3 separate regions of the Homo sapiens genome follow, and regions 1 and 3 are each linked to region 2. Evidence: promoter capture Hi-C in human tissues and cell types (Jung and others, 2019). All regions are on one chromosome and are shown on one strand. The core of a region is centred on a gene start or on the middle of the fragment in contact, and the rest is flanking DNA. Distances in the headings are between cores, read along the strand shown. Region 1 overlaps MICALL1 (MICAL like 1). Region 2 holds the start of TRIOBP (TRIO and F-actin binding protein). Region 3 overlaps EIF3L (eukaryotic translation initiation factor 3 subunit L).

Region 1 (3,445 bases), core at 796-3,295, 250 kb before region 2:
GGTCTCACTACATCCATTAGGCTGGTCTTGAACTCCTGGTCCTAAGCAATCCTCCCACCTCAGCCTCCCAAAGTGTTGGAATTACAGACCATACCCAAACTCTTTTCTTGGTTCTTTCCACCTCTTCCTGCCTCTCTTGACAGTACAGTATTGCTCAGGAGAACCCAGGGTAGCAGCAGGTGTACGGAAGCCCTGTCTGCATGACCAGGCACCCTGCAGCAAGCACGTGCACTTGGGAACACAGACCATGAATAAGGGCACCCTTTACAGCCTAACTAGGCCATTTCTTTTTGGCCCTACAGGGGATTTGGAGAAGGAGAAACAAAGACTCCAAAATATCTTTGCCACAGGGAAGGACATGGAGGAACGGAAAAGAAAGGCCCCTCCTGCACGACAGAAGGCTCCAGCCCCTGAGCTAGACCGATTTGAAGAGCGTAAGACTCCGACGGACCAGTCATGCTGGGGGTGGGGGTAATGTGAGGAGGGGGCCCAGAATTGGATGGAGCAGTCAGGGGATCCCTGAGGGCCAAGGGCCAACAAGTGAGAAACACTATTTATTTATTTATTTATTTATTTTGAGACAGTCTTGCTCTTATTGCCCAGGCTAGAGTGCAGTGGCGTGATCTGGGCTCACTGCAGCCTCCACTTCCCAGGTTCAAGCAATCCCTCCTGCCTCAGCCACCTGAGTAGCTGGGATTACCAGCGCCCGCCACCATGCCTGGCTAATTTTTGTATTTTTAGTAGACACGGGGTTTCACCATGTTGGTCAGGCTGGTCTCGAACTCCTGACCTCGTGATCCACCTGCCTTGGCCTCCCAAAGTGCTGGGATTATAGGCGTGAGCCACCGCGCCCGGCCTAGAAACACTATTTGACAATAGAACCACTTCCTCTCCTCAAGAGAGGCAACCCGCTGCCTGCATCCCTCATGGGAACCTGACAGCCCTCTCCTCTGTCCAGTGGTGAAGGAAATCCAGGAGAGGAAAGAATTCCTGGCTGACATGGAGGCCCTGGGACAGGGCAAACAGTACCGAGGAATCATCCTTGCTGAAATCTCCCAGGTAGGAGAAACAACCAGGAAAGTGGGGAGGGGAAGGGCCCAGCGCCAAGTGCGAATGGAAATACAGGGTCTGCTGTGGCAGGGTTCAGGGGTCAGGCTCTAGCTCACTGCTGTGACAGCTCCTCAGGTTCCTAGCCCTGATACACCTGCTTTCCCTGATGCCCTTTGCAGAAACTCCGGGAAATGGAAGACATTGACCACAGAAGGAGTGAGGAACTTAGGAAGGGTCTTGCCACCACTTAATCTGTCTCCAGAGACGGGCAGGGTAGCCCAAGCTCGACCACTGGAGTCCACTCCTCTGCCAGGCAGGGCCATCCTCAGGCCAGCCCATCCTACCAGCCTTCTGCCACGTCAGGTGGTGGCATAGCACTGCCCTGCAGTACCCCAAGGCATACTCAGCAGCCTAGCCCCTGCCCCGGAATGCAGATGGAGCCTCTGAGACTCACAGCCCCGTCCGCAGAGAAGCAAAGCCCGAGCATCCCTACTAGGACATGTGTCTAAAGGTATCCACTGGGCCTGCTTCCCACCACTTCTGACCTGTGGCCTGTTCATTTAGTTTTCTGAATTCAGGAATGAATATGATTCCTTTCTTCCTGTTTTAGGATTTACTTATTTGATTTCTTACCGCCTTAGGCAAGTATTCAACCACAATGATTAACTGGCCAATAAAACATATTTAACGTGGGTCATTACAAGCACCATTTTGTTTTCAGAGGGATAAGCTTATTTGTTCAAGGCATTAGACTTTGTCAAGCCCAGATGGTTTCTAGCTACCTGTTTGCATATTTCAAGTGGCAACGGGAACCAACCTCTTGGGCACCCCATGGCTGGCTGCTGTGGCGGGTGCTGAATTCCACTCTGTTAATGATCTCAATAAACCTCTGCAACGGTTCATTATCCCTCTGTGAAAACTAAGTCTCAACAAGATACCACAACCAAGGGCATTTACCTGGCAAGCAGTGCATTCAGGATTAAAAGTTGGCTTTAGCTTTATGTCTTTCCACTATACCCATGGCCACAGAAAGAAACATGAAAAGGTGGGAGCGACCTAGAGCCCTGGCCTGGGAGTTCCAATCCCTGCATGTGCCGCGTGACCTTTCTTGGGCAAAACCCACCAGCTCCGTGCTTGTGCATCTGCGAGGCCCTGCTGGGAAGGAGTCACCTGACACCTTGTCCTGTACACAGCACATCTGTCCCCCTCCCCTCTGGCTCCTGACACCCACGATCCCTGCCTTCTCCGGTATTCTGTCATTTGCTTGTCCCACTAAATCACCAAAATATTTTGGAAATATCAACCTTGTCTCGGGCACCTGGAGGGAGTCCCATAATCCCATCAGGTCACATGACCCAAGTTTCGGTTTGCAGAATAAAACGGCCCTGTAAATGGTGAGGCCCCAATCAAGGGCCGGCTCAGGGACATCCCATGGAAAGCCTCTGTGTCCACACACCCTCAAGAACCTGAGGGCAGAGGGTGCAATCTAATGGGAACAGTTGTCCTCGACCTCGAAGGCCCCATCATGTGGTCAGGAGGCAGCAAACCAGAGAACCCCCCAGGACAAATCCAGTCCACCCTGGACACACAGTATCAGCCAACCCTTGATTGAAATTCAGGCTAGTGGCCGGGCGTGGTGGCTCACGCCTGTAATCCCAGCACTTTGGGAGGCCAAGGTGGGTGGATCACAAGGTCAGGAGATCGAGACCATCCTGGTTAACACGGTGAAACCCCGTCTCTACTAAAAATACAAAAAATTAGCCAGGCGTCGTAGCATGCGCCTGTAGTCCCAGCTGCTCAGGAGGCCGAGGCAGGAGGATGGCGTGAACCCAGGAGGCGGAGCTTGCAGTGAGCTGAGATCGCGCCACTGCACTCCAGCCTGGGCGACAGAGCGAGACTCTGTCTCAAAAAAAAAAAAAAAAAATTCAGGCTAGCTTTCAGCATTTACAAATTACACACACATAAAATCTGGATTTCTAGCTTCTTATGACAAAGGATCTGGCAACACCGGGCCCACATTCAGCCCCACAGGCCACAGGTGACTTGACTTGCCTCCAGTTCACCCCTGCCCCTGCCAGCTTTGTCTCCTGACACCGAAACAGCCCGTCAGAGCTGTCACTCGGGTTCATGCGTGTTACCTGTCTGGCCCTGGAAAGGCCCTGGAGTTGGTGGCGCCAGCTCCAGGTCAACAGGCATGTTTAGAAGGAGCCTGCCAGGGGCTGCATGGCCGAGGAGCCACCTCTCCCTGCAGAGGAAAGGGATCCTGCCCAGTGGCAGGCGGTGAGGGCAGAGATCCCTCTTGGAGGATGGCCCCAACATGGCCTCTGGGCGACCAGAGATGTTCAGCCACCAGGTGTGGCAGAGGCAGGTGGGAAGGCAAACAAGGCTGCCGCTG
Region 2 (3,430 bases), core at 188-2,687:
CTACTCAAGAGGCTGGGGCAAGAGAATTGCTTGAACCCAGGAGGTGGAGGTTGCAGTGGAGCTAAGATCGCCCCGCTGCACTCCAGCCTGGGCAACAGTGTGTCTCAAAAAAAAAAAAAAAAAAAAAAAAGGCTCTTGCAGTGTTACCCAGGCTGGTTTTGAACTCCTGAACTCCTGACCTCAAGTAATCCTCCTCCTTCCCTCAAAGTGCTGGGATTACAGGTGTGAAGCATCATACCCTTCTGAAACCCTGGTGTCTTTCTTTCTTTTTTTTTTTTTTTTTTTGAGACAGAATCTCGGTCTATCACCCAGGCTGGAGTGCAGTGGCGCGATCTCGGCTCACTGCAACCTCTGCCTCCCGGATTCAAGCAATTCTCCTGCCGCAGCCTCCCAAATAGCTGGGATTACAGGCATGTGCCACCATGCCCGGATAATTTTTTTGTATTTTTGGTAGAGACGAGGTTTCACCATATGGGCCAGGCTGGTCTCGAACTCCTGACCTTGTGATCCACCCACCTCGACCTCCCAAAGTGCTGGGATTACAGGCTTGAGCCACCGCGCCCGGCCGCCCTGGTATCTTACTTGTGCAAGGGTTCTCCTTTCTGGGTGCCCCTAAGGCCACCAACATCCATGCCCTGGAGTGGAGCTGGGTCAGGAGAATCACTTAAAGATGGCCTCCCCACTCACACAGAGCCCCAGGGGGAGGGTGGGGGGTGGGAGGAACCCAACATCCCAAAACACCTGCAGCTTTTGGTGCCCCCAGGTCACCTGCCCACATCCATCCTCACCTGCTGTGTTCCAGGGGATCAGGCTTTTGTGGCCAATCTTGGTGGAGAGCTGAGGAATTTCACCTCCTCCCCTGGGACAGCCAGGGCCAAGGCTCCTCCATCATCAGACCTGGAGAAGGGAATGCGGTGGGGGCGACAGCAAGGCACGGTGGGGAGAGGGCTACCCACTGGTCCTTCCGTGGCCCCAGGGTCTCTGATCCTCCCCGGGCGGTCGTCCTCCCGACTCCTGGTGGTGGAAGAGGGGCGCATCGGCCCCGCCCGTCCTGGGCGTTTCTCTCCTGGTCTGGCCACATAAAGGAGCGTCGCCTAGCAGGAGAACGCCGCTCATTTTCCTGGGGGTGGGTAGGGGGCTCTACTCCACGTGCCCCTCGCTGCTCCCGTTTCCTCCCCTACCCACAACCAATAGGCAGAATCCTTCTCTAAAATGCACTTGAGATGTGGATATAATAATCAAAACCTTAAGCAGCTACACATGCCCCACCCAGAGAATGGACCCGGGACCCTCTCCATCCAGGCATTCAGCCAGTTCCTCCCCGGATCCCTCGACCCCTACCCCTCCTGTAGGCCTCCCCCTACCAGCTCCTCTTTTCTGAGGCCCAGTGCTAACCTTGGCTGGGTTTCCACGCACAGGGGCTGCCGGGGTGGGAGTGCCAGGGTCATGGCCTCTTTATTTTAACAATGAATCAGAGCGATGCTCGGGAGGTGGAAGGCCACGCCCCTGCCACGCTCGCATAGGCTCTCTCTGGGTGCCTCATTTACATGAAGACTGTGGGACTCTGTGGGACTGGACAAACCAGAACAAGGGGCGGGGCGGAGGCAGGCGGGGCGCAGATACCTCTGAGAGCGGGACTCACTGCACGTTTAGCCTGGGCCGCCTGCAGCCCTTGCCCGCTGGGGGTCCCCAGGGAGCCCTGGAGAGGGCTGGCACTGGCGGATCTGGCTCCTTCTGACCTCTTTCCCGTTGGTTCATTCTGCCGACAGTCCGCTGGGCTGGCTTTAGCACAGACCTTGGACTAGAGTCTTAACCTCTCTGTCATGACAGTTTTCTTACCGAGGAGGCGGAGGTTGCAGTGAGCTGAGATAGCGCCATTGCACTCCAGCCTGGGCGACAGAGCAAAACTCTTGTATAAAAAAGAAAAAAAAAATAGCCTGGCGTGGTGGTGTGCGCCTGTAGTCTCAGCTACTCAGAAGGCTGAGGCAGGAGCATCGCTTGAACCCGGGAGGCGGAGGTTGCAGTGAGCCGAAATCACACCACTGCACTCCAGCCTGGGCAACAGAGTGAGACTCCGCCTTAAAAAAAAAAAAAAAAAAAAAAAAAAAAACTTGTTTCCCATCTTTTTTCCTTTTGGTTGATATTTGCCAATTGTGGCGACTGGGATGGGAGGAGGAGGGCGAAATTCACTGGACAGGGAGGAAGGTTGCAGCAGGAGTCCAGGAGAGATGGGTGCAGTGATGAGACAGGGAAGGTAAACTAGATTCAGACACTTGTAGGCAGGTGAGCTTGGCACTAGGGTCACAGAAATCTTAGATTATTTTGAGAGTTGTTGGGGATCACCTGGGGGTTGGATTCAGACAGGATTGGCTGAGAACCTACATTGACACAAGCTTGTGCCCAGAGCAGAAACAGAAATGACTAAGATACAATTTCTCACTCAGAAAGCTCTGGTCTGGTTCGAGGGACAAACCAGGATTCACTGTGTTCAGTGTTTAAAAGAAGGAAACACCTACTATCATGGGAGGTCAGGTGGAGAAAGGAGGAAGGCAGAGAAGGCTTCTCCTTGGAGGTGGCTCAAAGGTGAGGAGATCGAGAAAGGCTGAGAACAGCCTGCAAACCTCTGAAGGTGGCTGGGGGAGGCCAATGCTAGCTCAGAACAAGGCGGGCATTTCTAGCAGTCCTCACAAGGGAGCAGGCAGTGAGCTCTCCAAGCTCAGGAGGAACTGAAGCCCCTCACCAGAGCCACCTGCAAGCCAAAGGAAGGTCAATGGCTCAAACCTGGGGGCGTCAAGGTCGTCAGCACCACTGGGACCTTGGAAAGGATGGACGCTGAGGCTTATATGACCCCAGAACACCTGCCCCCACAGTTCCTCACCTCACCCCCCTGGGGAGAGCTCAGGCCACCCCAAAACAGATCGTACCAAAAGAAGTTTTATTTTAATGGGCTGAGCCCAGCCTCAGGTAACTATGGCCACAGCTCATCATGTACTAGCACAGGGCCTGACCTTGGTGTGAAAACCGAGGATGGATAAATGTCTGCTGTGACTTTAGCTCCACACAGATGGATCCCCTCATGACAGCCCTTTATATATTTGGCTTCTGTGAAATAATCTGCTGATTATACCCCAACACCCATTCTCTCATTTTTTTTTTTTTTTTTTTTTTGAGACAGATTCTCGCTCAGTTGCCCAGGCTGGAGTGCAGTGGCGCGATCTCTGCTCACTGCAAGCTCCGCCTCCCGGGTTCATGCCATTCTCCTGCCTCAGCCTCCCAAGTAGCTGGGACTACAGGTGCCCGCCACCACGCCCAACTAATTTTTTGTATTTTTAGTAGAGACGGGGTTTCACCGTGTTAGCCAGGACGGTCTTGATCTCCTGACCTCGTGATCTGCCCGCCTTGGCCTCCCAAAATGCTGGGATTACAGGTG
Region 3 (3,577 bases), core at 950-3,449, 160 kb before region 2:
TCCCGAGTAGCTGGGATTACAGGCACACGCCACCACGCCTGGCTAATTTTTGTATTTTTAGTAGAGACGGGGTTTCACCATATTGGTCAGGCTGGTCTCGAACTCCTGACCTCGTGATCCACCCGCCTTAGCCTCTCAAAGTTCTGGGATTACAGGCGTAAGCCACAGCGCCTGGCCAGGAATCTTTACTTTCTATCAGATAAAGTAGTCAGAGATCCCGCTGGGATGCCGGAAAAACATGGCCCCTTACTCTGGCAGCAAGAACTTTTCCACCTACCACTACTGACAGTGGCTCCTGTGGCCAAGGCAGGAGTTCTAGCCATATCAAGCGGTCCTCAAGGAGAAGAGGGGTGAGTAACTGTGAGAAACTAGGACCTCCTTAGGTGGAGATCTTGGTGCCAATTTCCTTCACTTACACATGCATGCAAGCACACACATGCTCAATTAACACCATTATGACCAGACATTATTCTAGGCACTGGATTATATTGGTGAACAAGACAAGCACATACCCCGGTGGAGTTAACCTTCCAGTAGATTAAGAAACTCCCTCCCCTAAATAAACAAATACAACGTACAAGAGATAAGTGCTCTGAAGTGCCACGAATATTGCCAGGAGCCCAGGGAGGGAGGGGGAAAGTTTCAGGAAATGAGTGAGAAGGGAAACAGGGCTAAAACCTGGAATTAGTAAGTGTGATGGGAAGTCATGGTAGGATTGGAAGTGACCTGATGAAACTATGTAGCAAAAGGATCATGCTGGTTATTATGTTGAGAATAAACAGCCAAGAGTGGAAACTGACACCAGGTAAGCAGCTCCTGCAGTAATTCAGGGAAGAGATGATAATGACTTCAACTAGGTGAGCAGCAGTGTGGCAGTGAAAAGTGGCTGATTCAAGAAGTATGCTGAAGGCCAGGCACAGTGGCTCACGCCTGTAATCTTAGCACTTTGGGAAGCCGAGGCGGGCGGATTACCTGAGGTCAGGAGTTCGAGACCAGCCTGGGCAACATAGCGAAACCCTGTCTCTACTAAAAATACAAAAATTAGCCAGGCGTGGTGGTGCATGCCTGTAATCCCAGCTACTCAGGAGGCTGAGGAAGGAGAATCGTTTGAGCCTGGAGAATTGCTTGAGCCCAGGAGACAGAGGTTGGAGTGAGCCGAGACGGCGCCACTGCATTCCAGCCTGGATGACAGAGCGAGACTCCGTCTCAAAAACAAAACAAAATAAAACAAAACAACAAAAAGAAGTATGTTGAAGACAGAGCTTAACAGGATTTGCTGGATATCATGTCAGAGAAAAGTCAAGAATAATGCCAAGGCTTTTAGTCCAATTAACTTGGTAATAAACGGTAGCATTTATTGAGATGATTACCATGAGAAAAACTAGTTTAGAGGGAAAATAAGAATTCAGTTTTAGATGTGTTAAGCTTCAGATGACTCAGACAGCCAAGTGCAGATGCTGACAGCTGAATATACAAGTCTGGACTTCAGTGGGGCAACTGAGGCTAAAGATAGAGATTAAGTCATTGGTGTATATAAATAATACAGATGGCATTTTTCTTTTCTTTTTGAGACAAGAGTCTCACTCTGTCACCCAGGCTGGAGTGCAGTGGTACGATCTCGGCTCACTGCAACCTCCGCTTCCCGGGTTCAAGCGATTCTCCTGCCTCAGCCTTCCAAGTAGCTGGGATTACAGGCACCCGCCACCACGCCCAGCTTATTTTTGTAGTTTCATATTTTTAATAGAGACGAGGTTTCTCCATGTTGGCCAGGCTGGTCTCAAATTCCTGACCTCAGGTGACCTGCCCTTAGCCTCCCAAAGTGCTGGGATTATAGGCGTGAGCCACCGCGCCCAGCCTTAAATAGTACAGATGGCATTTTAAGAAACTTTAGGCACTCTAGGCCGGGCGTGGTGGCTCACGCCTGTCATCCCAGCACTTTGGGAGGCCAAGGCGGGCGGAACACGAGGTCAGGAGATGGAGACCATCCTGGCTAACACAGTGAAACCCCGTCTCTACTAAAAATACAAAAAAATTAGCCAGGTGTGGTGGCAGGCACCTGCAATCCCAGCTACTCAGGAGGCTGAGGCAGGAGAATGGCGTGAACCTGGGAGGTGGAGCCTGCAGTGAGCTGAGATCGCGCCACTGTACTCCAGCCTGGGCGACAGAGCGAGACTCACTCTCTCTCAAAAAAAAAAAAAAAAAAAAAGAAACTTCACGTACTCTATAATTTAGAAGTCGGGAAGAACAGAATCTAGCAAGTGCTCAAAGTTGGGATAATGTGTAGAATACTGGTGTTATAACAAGCTGGTCTAGATTCAAGGAGTTTTGTCACTTACTAGCTGGATAAATTTGAGAAAAGGTAACCTCTTGGCACCTCGGGTACCAACTTTGCACGATTGATAGTAGAATTAGATATGTGAAGATGTGTGCTAAGTGCCTAGCATTGTGCTTGGCATACAGTGACAGTGTTATGTACATCTCAGAGAAACAGAGGCTCAATGCTCTGAAGGGAAAAAGAACCCCAAGCAGAAGCAGCAGCAGGTACCTGGAAATATCCTATGAGGCTGGCAGCCTATAACCAGTGCATGGGTGATTGCCCAGTCCAGGAGAATTGTGGGGACAGAGAAATTTAAAAGAATGCATAGGTTATATAGCGTTAGTGTGTCTGAACAGCTTTCTGGGTTAAACTGTTCCTTCCACCGCTTCTTAAAACTCAAAAACATGCCAATCATGCCCAGACACTGAACCAATATAAACAAATGACTGTGTTCTAGGGACAAAAACAGCACAGAGTTAAAAAAACAAAAACAAAAAAAAAACTGCGACACTTAAATACTTACACTGACTTTGGCATATATGTGCCTGTAGTATAATTCTTTGTATAAAATCAGGAAGACAGCATCTGAAAGAGATGGCAGAAGGGTGCTTCACTAACCATAAAACTGGGGTATCCTGGCAGCTTTAGCTCTTTGGTGGGGAGGAATAAAGGTAATTCTGAAGACTAAACAACATCTAAATTGCTATGCATATGCCCCAAGAATACATGCAATGAGAAAATCCACTTCTCATTTGACTCCATCAACCTCAATCTCTGTCGATGAGATTAAGATCTCATTCAGATCTATTTCCTTTCACCATTTAGAGACTTCTGCCATCCAAGTGCATAAAAAAACCAGCACACAAGAGTAATTAGACAAGCGTGGTGGTGCGCACCCATGGTCCCAGCTACTCGGCAGGCTAAGGTGGGAGGATCGCTTGAGCCCAGCAGGCACAGGTTGCAGTCAGCCATTATCACACTACACTCCAGCATGGGCAACACAGTGAGACCCCCATGTCAAAAAAAAAAAAAAAAAAAAAAAAAGGAAGAAAGAAAATATTAATTTCAGAATGTTGTTTGTTTGTTTGAAGACAGGGTCTCGCTCTGTTGCCAAGGTTGGAGTGCAGTGATATGATCATGGCTCACTGCAGCCTCGACTTCCAGGGCTCAAGTGATCCTTCCACCTCAGCCTCCCGAGTAGGTGGGACTACAGGCATGTGCCACCATGCCTGGATAATTTTTTTAAAAAATTTTTTGTAG

Evidence for each region. Contacts are between HindIII fragments. The study calls those that stand out against the background at their distance.
Region 1: a fragment that was not itself captured here is called in contact with the fragment with the promoter of TRIOBP in region 2 in 2 of the 25 tissues and cell types used here (aorta and dorsolateral prefrontal cortex).
Region 3: a contact is called between a fragment that was not itself captured here and the fragment with the promoter of TRIOBP in region 2, in 1 of the 25 tissues and cell types used here (spleen).

The regions. Positions count from the first base shown.
Region 1 is chr22:37,942,031-37,945,475 of GRCh38, reverse strand. It overlaps MICALL1 (MICAL like 1), which reads right to left. Exons shown (of 16, transcript NM_033386.4): 16 at 2,654-3,445. It overlaps C22orf23 (chromosome 22 open reading frame 23), which reads left to right. Exons shown (of 7, transcript NM_032561.5): 5 at 303-434; 6 at 959-1,059; 7 at 1,230-2,426. The coding sequence ends at 1,301. Among named protein-coding and RNA genes, the nearest start is that of C22orf23, 9.8 kb to the left of the region's middle. The HindIII fragment of the contact is 9,418 bases long and covers 1-3,445 here.
Region 2 is chr22:37,695,055-37,698,484 of GRCh38, reverse strand. TRIOBP (TRIO and F-actin binding protein) reads right to left here and starts at 1,437. Exons shown (of 24, transcript NM_001039141.3): 1 at 1,396-1,437; 2 at 789-897. The HindIII fragment of the contact is 29,636 bases long and covers 1-3,430 here.
Region 3 is chr22:37,858,004-37,861,580 of GRCh38, reverse strand. It overlaps EIF3L (eukaryotic translation initiation factor 3 subunit L), which reads right to left. Exons shown (of 13, transcript NM_016091.4): 5 at 2,841-2,902. Among named protein-coding and RNA genes, the nearest start is that of EIF3L, 10 kb to the right of the region's middle. The HindIII fragment of the contact is 3,267 bases long and covers 566-3,577 here.